4 separate regions of the Homo sapiens genome follow, and all the other regions are linked to region 1. Evidence: promoter capture Hi-C in human tissues and cell types (Jung and others, 2019). All regions are on one chromosome and are shown on one strand. Each heading gives the region's core, a stretch centred on a gene start or on the middle of the fragment in contact. The rest is flanking DNA. Distances are from core to core; before and after follow the strand shown. Region 1 holds the start of HAPLN1 (hyaluronan and proteoglycan link protein 1). Region 2 overlaps EDIL3 (EGF like repeats and discoidin domains 3). Region 3 overlaps EDIL3 (EGF like repeats and discoidin domains 3). Region 4 overlaps EDIL3 (EGF like repeats and discoidin domains 3).

What was found. Contacts are between HindIII fragments. The study calls those that stand out against the background at their distance.
Region 2: a fragment that was not itself captured here is called in contact with the fragment with the promoter of HAPLN1 in region 1 in 1 of the 25 tissues and cell types used here (H1 embryonic stem cells).
Region 3: a contact is called between a fragment that was not itself captured here and the fragment with the promoter of HAPLN1 in region 1, in 1 of the 25 tissues and cell types used here (mesenchymal stem cells).
Region 4: a contact is called between a fragment that was not itself captured here and the fragment with the promoter of HAPLN1 in region 1, in 1 of the 25 tissues and cell types used here (mesenchymal stem cells).

What each region holds. Positions count from the first base shown.
Region 1 is chr5:83,719,197-83,722,652 of GRCh38, forward strand. HAPLN1 (hyaluronan and proteoglycan link protein 1) reads right to left here and starts at 1,659. Exons shown (of 5, transcript NM_001884.4): 1 at 1,593-1,659. RefSeq lists a silencer at 3,244-3,303. The HindIII fragment of the contact is 27,926 bases long and covers 1-3,456 here.
Region 2 is chr5:84,178,896-84,182,351 of GRCh38, forward strand. EDIL3 (EGF like repeats and discoidin domains 3) reads right to left here. Exons shown (of 11, transcript NM_005711.5): 4 at 1,498-1,626. Among named protein-coding and RNA genes, the nearest start is that of EDIL3-DT, 200 kb to the right of the region's middle. The HindIII fragment of the contact is 5,639 bases long and covers 1-3,456 here.
Region 3 is chr5:84,161,045-84,164,500 of GRCh38, forward strand. The region is part of intron 4 of EDIL3 (EGF like repeats and discoidin domains 3); the gene reads right to left. Among named protein-coding and RNA genes, the nearest start is that of EDIL3-DT, 220 kb to the right of the region's middle. The HindIII fragment of the contact is 4,212 bases long and covers 1-3,456 here.
Region 4 is chr5:84,121,652-84,125,107 of GRCh38, forward strand. All of the region lies in intron 5 of EDIL3 (EGF like repeats and discoidin domains 3), which reads right to left. Among named protein-coding and RNA genes, the nearest start is that of EDIL3-DT, 260 kb to the right of the region's middle. The HindIII fragment of the contact is 5,018 bases long and covers 1-3,456 here.

The DNA of each region.
Region 1 (3,456 bases), core at 409-2,908:
TAAATGGCTCATTTTATAAATAAGTACATAATGTTTCCCCACCTTCTTGTTTCTCATAGAAAGCCCAGGCCCATAAGGCATTCCTGTCGAGAATACTGGCCTCTGGGTACATTCCTCCTGTAGAGCAGTGGTCTGTTGAGGTTGTTGGTTATCTCTTGTTCATTTAATTAGCCTTAAGTAAAATTACTTCTTATCTAGTTCTGTTTTTAAGCTGTTTCCAATTTAGTGGAAGAGGTCATCAACAAAAGTATAAATTCATTTCTTAGCTGAAACAATTAAATTTTTTAAAATGGGTGGTATAAAAGTGACTAAAGACTAAAGCTAATATCTGAAGAGTCCTTTGGTATACATTATATTTTACTGAATGGAAGAGAAACTTTCATTTTTGTAGGTAAATGGAATTTGTTAACTGATATAAGAATTATGAATCATATCACATTAAAAATTCTCCAAAGATAACTACTATGATATACTTTTGATAGAACAATATTCCCATTCCATTAAAATACTGAAATGACTGAAATGTGTATAAAATCTCTGCAAATTTAGTACACAGAAATAATCACATAGAAATAGTTACCAGAAACTACAATTGTAATGAATAAATATTACATTCATTTAGAAATCAATCCACAGCCTTAATTTCTTAAGAACTATTAGCTTCCAAGAAGCCAGCCAGTATGTTTGATTTTATGACATCACACTGGAACATGTACAGGAACACTTTCCACCCTAAAAATTCCCAAATGTACTGGCCACTGTGTGTATTTTTCCAGTGATAAATGAAAATAAAGCAACTTATTCTCAAATTAATAAGCCATCTTATTTTGAACACAACAGTCACATTCAATGGAAGAAAACTACTTAATCGAAGCCCAAACAAGTTTAGGTTTGTTTTTGGTGGGGAACAGTCTCAACATACAAATAATTTCTTTAAGCAACTTTTAACAGTAATCTTAACTATGACTATAAATTCTCTTCAGTGCATTCAAATTATCCATCAACATCATTGTATATATGAAATGCATCATCATTCTATGATCTTAAGTTCATAATTAGCTGGAGAAGGAAGCCTGGGCCAAAAATGGCAACATTTCTAAGATTATTAATCTAACAGGTATTACCTATGCCTAAAGTAACTTTCTTTTTCACATAACCCTATATATTCTCTGAAACAAAATTCATAAGCCTGGCTGGACATTCCCATTCCTCACCTTTCCCTTCAGCCTATACTATCCTTGTTTCATCTCAGGTGCTATAAAAATGGTTGTTGAGATACAGATAGAAAAGTCACCACTTGGAAACCATGACCCTACCAGATTTACAGGAGCACTAGCAGAAGCTAAGATACTAGAGTTAATTCTTTCTCCATTTTTAGACTGAGCCTGTTTATTGTAGTGAAATATTTTATCCGACAATATGAAACTTTTTTAAAAGTTGAGGTGTCATATTAAATTCAAATGAAAACTAAACTCAAAAGAAAAGAATAAAATTTGTTTAATGTATATATACATTGCATGTGTATTGCCCTCTGAAATCTTAAAGGCACAAAGGTATAACCAAAAGAGGGGGAAACAATTTGCAAGTTTTACCTTGTCCTGAAATCCAGGAGTTCGGATGCTCTCAAGTTCTGCTTAAGTTGGAAGCTGGAGATCAAGTGAAGCTAGCGCTCTTTCTCCTCACCTTAAGTTTGTCTCTGGGCGAGTGTGAGAGTGTGTGTGTGTGTGCGTGTGTGAGTGTGTGTGCAGAATGTCTCTTTGTGGCGCTGGATGGCAGAGGTCCTGATCCTGGGAAGAAGGAGGCACTTTCTCACCAAGAGCAGAAGAAAAGCAAAGCGTCACCAGGAAAGTTCTCCTCCCAAATCCCCTAATTACAGCCTAATGTGCACTTCATGCAAACTTCAGGGAGGAAGGGAGGGGCAGCTCTGTGCCCAGACCTTGTAAAGCAGCAGCCTCTTAGATGACTTTCCCCTCTGCTCAGATCCCGAGTATCCCGCTCTGGGGTTTAGGAAAGCCGGCCGCTACAGCCACACAAGCCCCCACCACACCACACCTCCCGAACCCGAACCCTCATCAGTCCTGGGTCTGTCCAGAAGGGATGGGACAAGGGGTCTGTGGAATGATCTGCGGGGCAGCGGTGTGAGCAGACTCCTCAGGACAGTCAGTTTGCGCTTTGTTTTATTAGCCTCTGCTTAAAAGAAAAATCCAAGGGTCGGAGAGGTCCTCTCTTTCCCGCCTTCCCCTCACCAAAGGAGATCAAGGATAACAGACAATGATGATAGTGGCACATAAAGCTTCTTAAACTGGAGATGGCCTTCCACCCAAATCACCAGAAGCATATTTTCTGGTTTACTGGACTCAGTATTGGTGTTGAGTTTAAATTTCTCTTAACAAACAACTGCTATTGTATCCTTGGATGACAGAGCTCAAAGAACCTGGATTTATTTATAGAACGAGGAATGCGAGGGGGAGACGGGATGGGTGGGGTTGGGTTGTGGATCCATAACCAGGATTAGAACCAGATGGGCACAGGGCGCGCGCGCGCACACACACACACACACACACACACACACACACACACAGACACACACACCCCTGAAATAACCAGTGGGGAAGATGCTGGGACACGCGGGAAAACGCCTCCTGAACAAATAGACGTTTATTTATAACTTCTGGGAGAGTATATAGGTCCATTGATTCCCGCCTTGAGTAACCAAGGGTTTTGGAGAGGAAATGGCTTCATATTTCAATAACAGAGCCACCTTTGATGGAGTCTAGGAAGGGGAAAAAAGAAACACACCGCAGGAAGCAAACGGCTGTTGGAGCAGCCGGGAGGAGGGAGCGGGGCTGGCCCTGGGACTGAGGACAAGCAAACAAGCTCGAGGGGCCCGCGGCCAGGGTGGAGGCGAGACGCAGGCCGTCCCCGAGTTGCAGCGAGCAGGGCCCGGTGTCGCGGAGCGCTGGGGACGTGCGGGGATTCGCGGCCGTGCTCCCGGCTCCAACCTCCGGCCCCGGCGGGGCGGCGCGGGCGGGACTGCGGGCTTCTTAAGGCCGCCGCCGCCGCTCGGGCTGTGGCGCGGGTTGGGGAGAGGGTTCCGTGGGCCGTAGGGACTGAGGGAGTCGTAAGTCGATGAGCTAGTGGGGCAGGAGGATGGGCGGGTCCAGGGCGTCCTGGAGGTGCAAGGTGGGATGGGAGGACCTGAGGGGCAGCCAAGCTGCTGGGGAAGCCGCCGGGACGGGGGCTCTGGCCGACAATGCAGGTGGCCGGTGTGCAGATGAGCCAGCGCGCGGGGTGCGGCCGCCGGGATGCCCGATCCGAGTCGCGCGGGTGGCGGCGAGCGGCGCTATTGTCTTAAAGATAAAGCCTAAGCCACGGGGACTGCCTCCTCCTGGACTCTGGAGAGAGGCGGGAGAGATTGCAGGGGAAAAAAGGCTTCTTCCCGCGTCTTCTGAGAGA
Region 2 (3,456 bases), core at 415-2,914, 460 kb after region 1:
AGATTTCTTTGTGCTTTGAAATGTCTTGAAATTCAACAAAATTATATTAATTTATAAGCTTGTCTGAATATAGTATGAAGCTATATTTTATATATTGTTTGAACAGAGTATGAAGCTATAGTTTGAATATAGTATTTATAAGCTTGTTTGAATATAGTATGAAGCTATGAGAGAAAAGACTTGGGGTGGCCAGTCTGTTTCCCTCTGGGCACTGCCTCTGATGCCACATCACAGGGTAAGTAAGGGTAAGTAACATGGTCTTCATGGGATTAAGTGAACATCAAGGCTCCTGAGATTCTGGGCTCCTATCTTTATCTTTCCAGGGCTGTTTTGAAGTGTCCATGTGTGAAGGCTGAGCAGTGATGCTAGCTAGCATCAGGGAGACCTAGCCTTGGCACCTCTGGGCCCAACCTGAGAAAAATCAATAGCTTTTCATTGCTTTGTTGGTGATCTGAGCTTTTAGGGACAATTCCAAGTAGTTTAGATGCCCGTTGTACAAAGCACACACGCCCATGCACTACAATAGGTTTCTACGGAAATTCTACAAACTTCTGGCCATGGCATGTCTCCAGAAAAGTACAAGATGCTCCCAAAGTCACAGAGCCTGAAGGCACTCTGTTTTTTGCTGGTGCTTGGATACAGCTCTCGCTGACAAATCCAGCTTTGCCTTATCGTTCTTAATACCATTGTCTTACCCATCAATACAGTAATCATGGCTTGCCTATTCCTTCCCCACTCTTCCTACTATGTGTCATTCCCCTGTCTCTGATCAACATTCTGTCCCTCCTTCAAGACTCAGCTTGCATGTGGCAACCTCTGTGAGAATCTCCCTGACAGCTTAGAGTTGGCTGTGGCCCCTCTGCTTGCTGAACACCTACAGTGCTAAGGCACCACACCATTCCTTTGACATTTATGTTCACCCCTCCTTCTAAGAAGAAATCATCACTAGTGGGATCTACTTTCTTTAACCTTCCAAGATAAATAAGAATTGGGATTTAAAAAAGAAGTGCAGGTAGCATACTTATTGAGCTTTCAAAGATTTTCACACTAAAAATGCCAACATGTAAGAAGGAGAAAACTGGCTTAAGGGCAGGGTGGCAGTTTTGTGTTTTGTTTTTTTTTTTCTGGGTATCATCTCTGAACCTAATCACCAGAGTAATTTTTGGAAAACTTAAAGGATGTGGCTTTAGGACAAATATGAAAGAGACAGATATCAGTTTAATGTAAAGTGCATCTTTTGGCAAGGATAGTGGGGCAATAATAAAAAGGGATGACCAGAAGACTACAAACTTCCCATGCCACTGGGAGGATTGAAACACAGTCTAGGAGTCCTCCACTGTGGACATGGTGTATTCCATGGGAGAGAAGCAGCATTAGCCAAAGCCAGGGCTCTCTTCTGCTCTCAGATTCTATGATTCTACTACAAACAAGAATGATGATGGCTTGTATACTTTGTAATCAATAATAATAAAAGTACAATGACTATGAATAACTTACTGTGCTGACAGTGAATCCCATTAAATCCTCGGGGACATTTACAAACATAGCCTATGAATGTATCCCCTCGGTATGCTTCACTTATTTCACAGGTTCCTCCATTATGGCATGGATTAGGAGTGCAGGGACCTGAAAGACAGAAAAAAATATTTCTGCTTGATGCATATTCTTAAAAGTAGACATTAGGTCAACATTTTGCAATTAATAATTTTACAGAAAAAAGTGTTCTAGATATTAGTGGCATAGTAAATGTACTGGTTGTATGAGCTCTGGAGACTAATGGCCTGGGTTTGAATCTTGGTTTCACCACTTCACAGGCGTGCAGTCTTGAGAGATTTACTTACCTTCTCCATGCCTGTTTCCTTTTCTGTTAAATGTCAATACTAAAAAATTTGCCTTAAGAGGTTATAATACAGATGAAAAGAGTTCATACATATAAAATACCCAGAACAGTGTCTGTCACATGTAAAGTACTCAAAAAATTATTAGCATTAAATTAGATATTATTAAAATTTCTGAATTGTAGAATACCTTCTGGGTGTTTAAAAAGTAATATTGAATAGCAATTTCTGGAGTTGTATTCACAACTCCACAATTTTTGTCCCCTGCTGGTACAAGCAGCATATGGCTGTAACCACATAAACCAAGTGAATTGGATAGCTGGCTGCAAAGCTTTTATAGAGTATGAGTTTATGGTGGAGCATACCTCTGGGGAAGCACATTTTCTGCCAATCTAAAACGAGCAGTCCGTCAAAAGTTGCATACTTAGAGAAGAGGGGCTGATGGTCATTTTTAAACTTGAGAAAGTAACAGCAGATTATTTAGTACCTGTGGCTGCTAATGAAAGTGTGGTGCTGCTCAGAGCTCTCTTGGAGAAAACCAGCTGCCAGGAGTGTGGTTAGCTGACAACATTCAGCTACTGAACCACAGGATCTGCTGTGGCAGCATTTATTTTAAGGCCAGGCTCCCCAGCCAAAAACTAAATACCAAAGGGGCATAGAGCTAGCTGGGCCAGTCGTGCCTGACCTGAGACTTCTCTAATAAACATTCTGTACTCTGAGGTGCCCCAATGGTGTGGCTGAGATTTTTCTTAAAACCATAGCAGTTTGAGACTTTTTCTATGCCATGTTCTCTCCTTCCTTTTCTCCCTTCAAAGTGACAGGCTATGTCACGGTCTGTAGGCTCATCCTATCTACTCTTGCTCTCTCTCCCCTTTGTGCATCACAGACATTCCCCCCAAAAATCTTTTACACTTTTAATTCTATCTTACAGTCTTCTTCCTGCAGGATGTTAATTGACTCAGGACAGAATCCAGACTTGAGATTGTGAAGAAGGGAAGAGTCAAGTTGAAGGAAGGAAAAGCTCTCCCTGGGAGATGAAAAAAGACAAAAACAAAAAACTACAGTTTTCTCTAATTTAGTCTGTACTGATTTTAATTGGAGAGAGTAGAACATATTTATAAGGAAAAGAAAAGCCACTGAAGAGGAAGTTAAGATGTACATATTAGAAAAGGAAAGCAAGGGTAATTAAACTAAGTATCTGACTGTGTATGAAGAGGTGATTTTGAGAGCCCTAGAGGATTTGTTCAGAAAAGGAGTGAGTGTGTTCAGCTGAAACAAGAAGCAAGGTAGAAGAGCTGGACAAATGAATAATAATAACTTGAGTCAACTGGGTTGGGGCAAGGGTATTGAACAGAGAGTGCTATAGAGAATGACTCCTCCTGCATGGGTCAAAGCCACTAATAAAAACAAGAGCTGAACGAGGTGGTGCACGCCTGTAATCCCAGCACTTTCAGAGGCTGAGGCGGGCAGATTGCTTGAGCCCAGGAGTTCGAGACAAGCCTGGGCAACATGGTGAAACTCCACTTCTACAAAAAATACACACACACACACACACACACACACACACACACACAAATCCAGGCATGCTGGTGTGCACCTGTAGTCCCAGCTACTTAGG
Region 3 (3,456 bases), core at 639-3,138, 440 kb after region 1:
TGTGTCCTCACAGCTTAGCTCCCACTTACAAATGAGAACATACAATAGTTGGTTTTCCATTCCTGAGTTTCTACACTTAGAATAATGGTCTCTAATACCATCCAGGCTGTTGTGAATGCCATGACTTTGTTCCTTTTTTATGTCTGAGTAGTATTCCATGGTGTGTATATACCACATTTTCTTTATCTACTCATTGATTGATAGGTGTTAAATAGATAAACTGTTCCCAACATAAAGAAGGAAAAAAATATATTCCTTTGACTAGCTTCAAGACGAATGCCTTTTTAAAACCTGGGTTTGTTATGACTAATGCTTAACTCGGGTCTAGTTATCTGGACAAATAATAAGATTACAGGACAACTGTAAGATAAAGATTCACCCCAACCAAAGAATGAGCACTGGGGTTTCTCATTAAAAAAAGAGCTTCACAGTCTATAATATTTCAAACAAAACAAAAGCATCCTTTACCTAATACTAGATATTTGTTTCTACCTGATCCTGAATCAAATCTTGAGGAAGCTGCCATTGTTTTTCTGATTATTTCTAGGTAATAAAAATGCCCTAAGCTTACTTTTAGCTACTAGACAATCGCCTGTACCTTCCTTACTAAAATAAGTCTAGTTTTGTAGCATCTAAAAATTCATAGTGATATCCAAGTTGGAACTCCTCATTCCCAGCTTAGGCCTACCTGGGAAAATTGCAGTGGAGAAGTGGGACCTCACCTAAAATTCACAGTCTGGGTCACAATGGAAACTCTCTTATGGGTCTAAATCATTAAAAGTTATCATAAGGCTAATAAATTATTTAAAACATTTGTCACCTATCTTTCTAACAATGTGGAAGACTAGGTTGGAATTTAGAACTCTAAATTTAGAACTAGGTTGGAATTTAGAATTTAGAATTGAGGACCATAAGAGAAACAGCTTTCAACCCACTCTTCTCTACAGATATCCAAGCCCAAGCACCTGATCACTGTCTTTCCCAAGCAGTAATCAGATATTCCATGGCATGTCACTGATCCCAGGTGTGTGCCCACTAGTGACACAGTGACACATGGGAGGACAGATATGGAGAAGGGGCTCACATGGGGCCTAGAAGTATGCTGGGTACCATTTGGGCAGACCATTCTGGGTTCTGGATTATCTTCAGCATGGTCTAGAAAGGGGAATAAGTCTCCAGGTGGGCATGTTCCCTTGTACCCATGGATGTCTTGCTCCATAGAGAGGAGTGGTTCCAGAAGAAAGCCAGAGCAAGATCTCCAATGTGAGATCCAGGACAAGGGGTCCCTCCTGGCAGTGTCTAAGGAAGGAACTGGGAAGTGAGTTAAGGCGATATTCTCTTCTCTCATTCCACCTTATCCTCCATTCTCTAGTTTCTTTTGACATCTTCAGTACCAAAGTGGATGAGATGAAATCCTTGATGGTCAGGTTGAAACATGGCTTTGGTGATCTGGATTTGGCAGATGTGCTTTGTGGGCTCTTTTTTTCCTGGGACAATGGAAGGTTCTGTGATGACATTTCATCACTGGGAATTCTTTACCTCTAGCTGCCTTCTTTTATGGGCCTTTATGCTCTGTGCCCTGGATCCCCTTGGAGCACCATGTTGATTGCACAGGGACCTTCTCTGGATTTTCCTCTTGGGCTCCCAAGATAACAGAGCTTCTTGGTTTTGAGAAGTCCACATCTGGCCCACAGGAAATCCACACATATTCTTTCCCTGCCATATTCTAGAACTGTACTCCATTCCCCATACCTTTCTCTGTCCTTGATCTGTATCCAGTGAGGACAGCTTAGGCCATAGCCCCTTGTCTTTGGGCCTCCCAAGAAAGGCACTGAAGCAGCAGTCCATATGTAACTGATTATATGACATCATCATAATAAAAGGAAAAGCTTAGTGTTTTATTTCTTTCTGACCTTCCCACAGTCCTTTTCTTCCTTTTTCAGTAATAACATACTTAATATCAATCATATTTTTAAAAGTAAATATTTAGGGAAAACAGACAGTGGGCTTTTAAATCGACCAAGACTCTTGAGCTTTGTATTTGAGAAAGCTTTAAAAATAAAAGTTGGGCAAGAAATTTGAACCTCAAAGAGTGACTCTACTTTTAGATGACAAACCCAAATCATGTTTAAAGTCCCTGAAAAACAGAAAATGACCAGGAAGTTCATTTTAAATATACTCTCTAAACCATTTGAGAATTGCAGGCCATAAACTATGGCAGAAAGATAGCTGGCAATAAATTTTTCCTCAATTTGGTTGCTCTGAAGAGGAAAGAGAAAGACTATGTTCTCAGACAAAAATGTCACTTACATTCCTATGAGACTATACCTTAAAGAGAAACTGAAATACGTTATATTCCTATGAGTTTAAAATATCAATTAAAAAATAAAGCTCACTAAGAATTAAGTTACTTTAAGGAAATAAGGTAATTTCATGTTTATTTACTTTTTAACATATAAGACCATCAATGCAAAAATACACTAAATATCTTGGATGACTTTATTAATAAAAAAGTCATGGATAGCTCAGAAATTCATCTAATCAAACTTAAAAGACTAATCAGTGCAACTTAAGATCAAAATCAGCCATGCTAGGTCAATCTATCTACGTAACTTAGAATAATGTTAGTAGTAAGGTATTAACATGGACATTGTGACATCTTTTATAGACAGAAAAATGCATAAGGAAAGTTTTAGCAAAACAAAACAAAACACATGTATAAACTTGCAGTTTAATTCATCTTAAATGAAGATACTGAGAATGATTATCCATACTAGAAAATGCTATCCATTTTCATCAAAATACTATCCTGTCATCAAAAGTATGATGTCATCAAATTCTACCTTATAAACTTCTAAACGGATTCCATTGCTTTACTGTATTTAAATATGGTGAATCATTTATACTAATACATAGCTCTTTAGAAGCTTGTAATAATTGACTGCTTTTAAGAAGGCCAACTTAGACCTCTGAAGCTGGCCATAAGGGACTACTGCTGTATATGCTGTGCTATGATTTTCTCATCATATATGCAGATACAACTGAGAGGGATCTGAAAAAATATTTTTTTTAATATATGCCCTGCTTTTTCCACAAATCAGTTAAAACGGTTTGCAGTAAAATCCCTACATATGAAGAGACGTAGATATAAAAATAAAAATAGGTATCCTAAATGATTGGGAAGAATAGGAACGTAGACTAGGATACTTACTGGATTTGAACATTAAGTTTGTCTATGTAGATAAAATAGCTTTTATAGTTCTCATTACTTGATGACATGGGTATCTTCATACTTCAGAAATTATAAATATGTGCTTCCTTGAATTTAAATAAAATATATTTAAAAATATACTGGTAAAATATGCCAGCACTAATTCATTCAATAAATATTTATAGTACAGCTACCATGTGACAGGCACCCTTGAAAGATATAAGAGAAATATCCGTATGTAAAAT
Region 4 (3,456 bases), core at 445-2,944, 400 kb after region 1:
TTCTAGCAATATCAAACTGCAAACCTTAGACTGAATTTTACTTAGATGACAGTGTAGGAAGTATTTTTGCAGCTCATGCCTCTGTCCTTTTCTTCGCTGTCCCAGCGTTCCCCCAAACAGAGTTATTTGTGCCAATTCTGGGGTACAAAAAGACTCTAAGCATATGTGTATCATAGCACTGAGCATTTAAATATACTTTTAATGGGCATTTATGTATTTAAGAATTTGTCTTCCACATTAGATTGTAAATTCTTCCAAACAACAGTTATATCTGGGTCCTGACCGATAAATGGGCCTATTCCTCGCATCTTATAAAGAGCCTGGAAGTAACAGCTGCTCAAAAACATCATTGATCAATTTAATTGAGGCAAACATAACAGACAGTATCTCCCTCTAGGATGGTTCTCTACCTTGCAATGCAAACTCTTGCAGCATTTTACCCATTCTCACCTCAAGTGCACTTCACTCTTGTATATCTCCTCATCCAATATCTTTCTCTTCTGCAACTAAGATAAGTAATATCTAAATGTGTTGATTCCCTTGTTTAGGTGGACTGTCCATAACTCTTTCCTGCTCCCCTTCCAAAGGTATGGATTTATCTTTTCTCTCACAGATCTTCCTAAAAAATACAAATGGAGCCTGCACATACATACTGCAGAGAAAAATATGTCAGGCATTTTGGCCTTAAAACAACCCCATGGAGAGTATCTTTTTATTATTATTATTATACTTTAAGTTCTAGGGTACATGTGCACAACGTGCAGGTTTGTTACATATGTATACATGTGCTATGTTGGTGTGCTGCACCCATTAACTCGTCGTTTACATTAGGTATATCTCCTAATGCTATCCCTCATGGAGAGTATCTTTATTTCCAATTGTAATTGAGGCAATTGAGACTCAGAGAGGTTAAGTAACTCCCCTAAAGTCTTACAGCCAGGATTTGAACCCAGGTACATCTATTACCAATGGGTCATGATAAACATTGTAATGACACGCTGGGGGTGTTCTGTTTGCTGCATATGCCTTAAGGAGTGTGGAGAAACTATAAAAAATGATGAGGAGGGCACTTAGATGTCTTGTTTATGAAGATGTAGGACAGTGATCTAACTCACTTTGTGTTCTCCGTCACCGTTGTTCTGCCGTGGTTGGACTAAAGATTCAACATGGACTGTTATTCATTCAACATTTAACTAATATTTATTGAGCCTCTTCTTTGTGCAAAGCAGAGGTATAACATTTAATACTTTAGTTTTCTAAGATTGAAAGTGATTTTACAGCTGAAGCAGGTTATTAGAAACTAAATTCAGAATAATTTTATAATGAGACATCTGTAGACTAGGAACATGGTGAACTGCCTACCTCAAGAACTTCTACAGCCTTATTTTTCCTCTCTCTCACTGTGTATTTTCTCTCTACAATTTAATAACTATTTTCACATTTCCTCTTTTAAGAAAGCCTATTACAGCATAGTGCATTTTTCTCTGTTTAAGAAAATGCCTCAGGATAAATTGTGGAGGCAATTATTTTCAATGCTAACATCTTCAAACATGAAACCAGCATCTGGGCAATTATGACATTAGTCTGATTTAGCATTAAAAGGTAAAAGTTTATGTATAAATTTCAAAATTTTAAGCATTATTTTATCAAGAATTTTGTGTCCCAACCACAGATCATTTTTGTTGCTGTGGTTAAATTTGTTTCTAATAGTCTTGTGTTTCATGTATGTACACAACAATCCTTAAATGAATAAGCAAATACCAATTAAACATTCATATATGCATAAACTTGGATTTTGCCTGTATATTTCTCTTTTCTATCATATTCACGTTAATGTAGAGCCAAGGCTCATTATCTGTGTCAACAGATTAGAAAGTAAATTGAGTAAAATAAATCAATTGATTATGTTTACTTCACACACCTTGCAATCATTTGAAAAGTTAGTTTTAACTCCCATTTCTCAAAAGCATGACTAATTAATAACATGAATTATTAACTGAAACATGATTTTTATAGGTTTTTACTTCTCTCTAGTACTTTATTGTTAAGGTAGAATACTAAAAAAACATCATTTCAATGAGTAATAAAAGCAGCCTTGTAGACAATTTACTTGTCTATCCAGCTCCTAAAATTTCAAAAACTGTATGTACTGTCATATTCTTGGAAGCAGTGGAGGTGTGACTAGAGTGAAAAACAGTAGTTCCTTTTTACTTACATGTTGTTAAAAAGTATAAGACCAATACTATGCAGTTTTCTACTATTTTTTCTTTTATAAAATTCAGTTTAAACTTGGATTAAATGTATCCAGTTGCCTGTTCATTATGTTTAAACAAGTGTTTATCTGCTTCCCAATTTTACACCAATCAAAATAGATGAAGGTAACTTTCTCCCTAGAGAATTCTTACTAAACTCAGAGACATCTTAGCCACTCGACTGCCTGAACTTATCAAATGCCCAACTTATCCAGGTATGCATAAAATACTTATGCAGGTATTTTAGGTATTACCAAAGAGAAAATTAAGTACACTGAAGAAACAATGTCTATTTTACCGACAAATTTTAGATCGGAAAAGGGATTTGGCCAACCAGACACAAGGGAAGACACGTTGTAGAAAGAACCAAGTAACAATATGTAAATATTATATGCATAGCCTCTGATGGTATGTTACATGTGTCGATTTAAATGAACTCCATTTTAGAATGAAATAAAATTGAATAATTAATTTTGTGGTTCCCAAGTATTCCTGTTCAGATATGGAATACTTTTGTAATCAGAAAACATGTTTAAGAAAATTTTAATGGACCTTTTGTTCAAAACAGGTGAAATGTCAACAGTTTTCCAAGTGAAAACTCTATCGGAGATGCTATTGTCACCTGCTAAGTGGCACAGAGATGCCCACTAGAAATTAATTGATAGATAATTGTGCATTAGAAAAATTACTTTATTCTTATCATATTGGCTTATCAACTTCATTGGACAGAATTTTATGTGTTACTTTGTATATTGTTAGGTTAATAATACTGCTACCCAAGGAACAAAAAAAAATAGTTTTACTTTTTATGATTAGACCAAATACCAGAAGGACACGGTTAATAGCTTTGTGGGAACTTTTGTAGTGTTTTGCATAATGAATGAACTCACCAAAGCTCCTATGACAAAATCCTCCTGACTACTCAAAAGGTTAAATGTGTATAAATAGATGACATTTTCCTATACTATGAAGAACAGTTGAATAATACTAAATGAATTGTTTTCCTTCTCAGGTACACTTATAAACTGACTGCTTTCTTGGTGTTAACCTTTTCATGCACAATCCCTTGAACTACTTATTATTAATTAATATGAGGAATATTATTAAATTTAAATTGATCATTCATGAAGACAAGGATGCAGAGTAAAAACAGAGAGAAGCAAAAGTTCTAAAAGACTATAGGGTCTACAAATAGGAATAATGA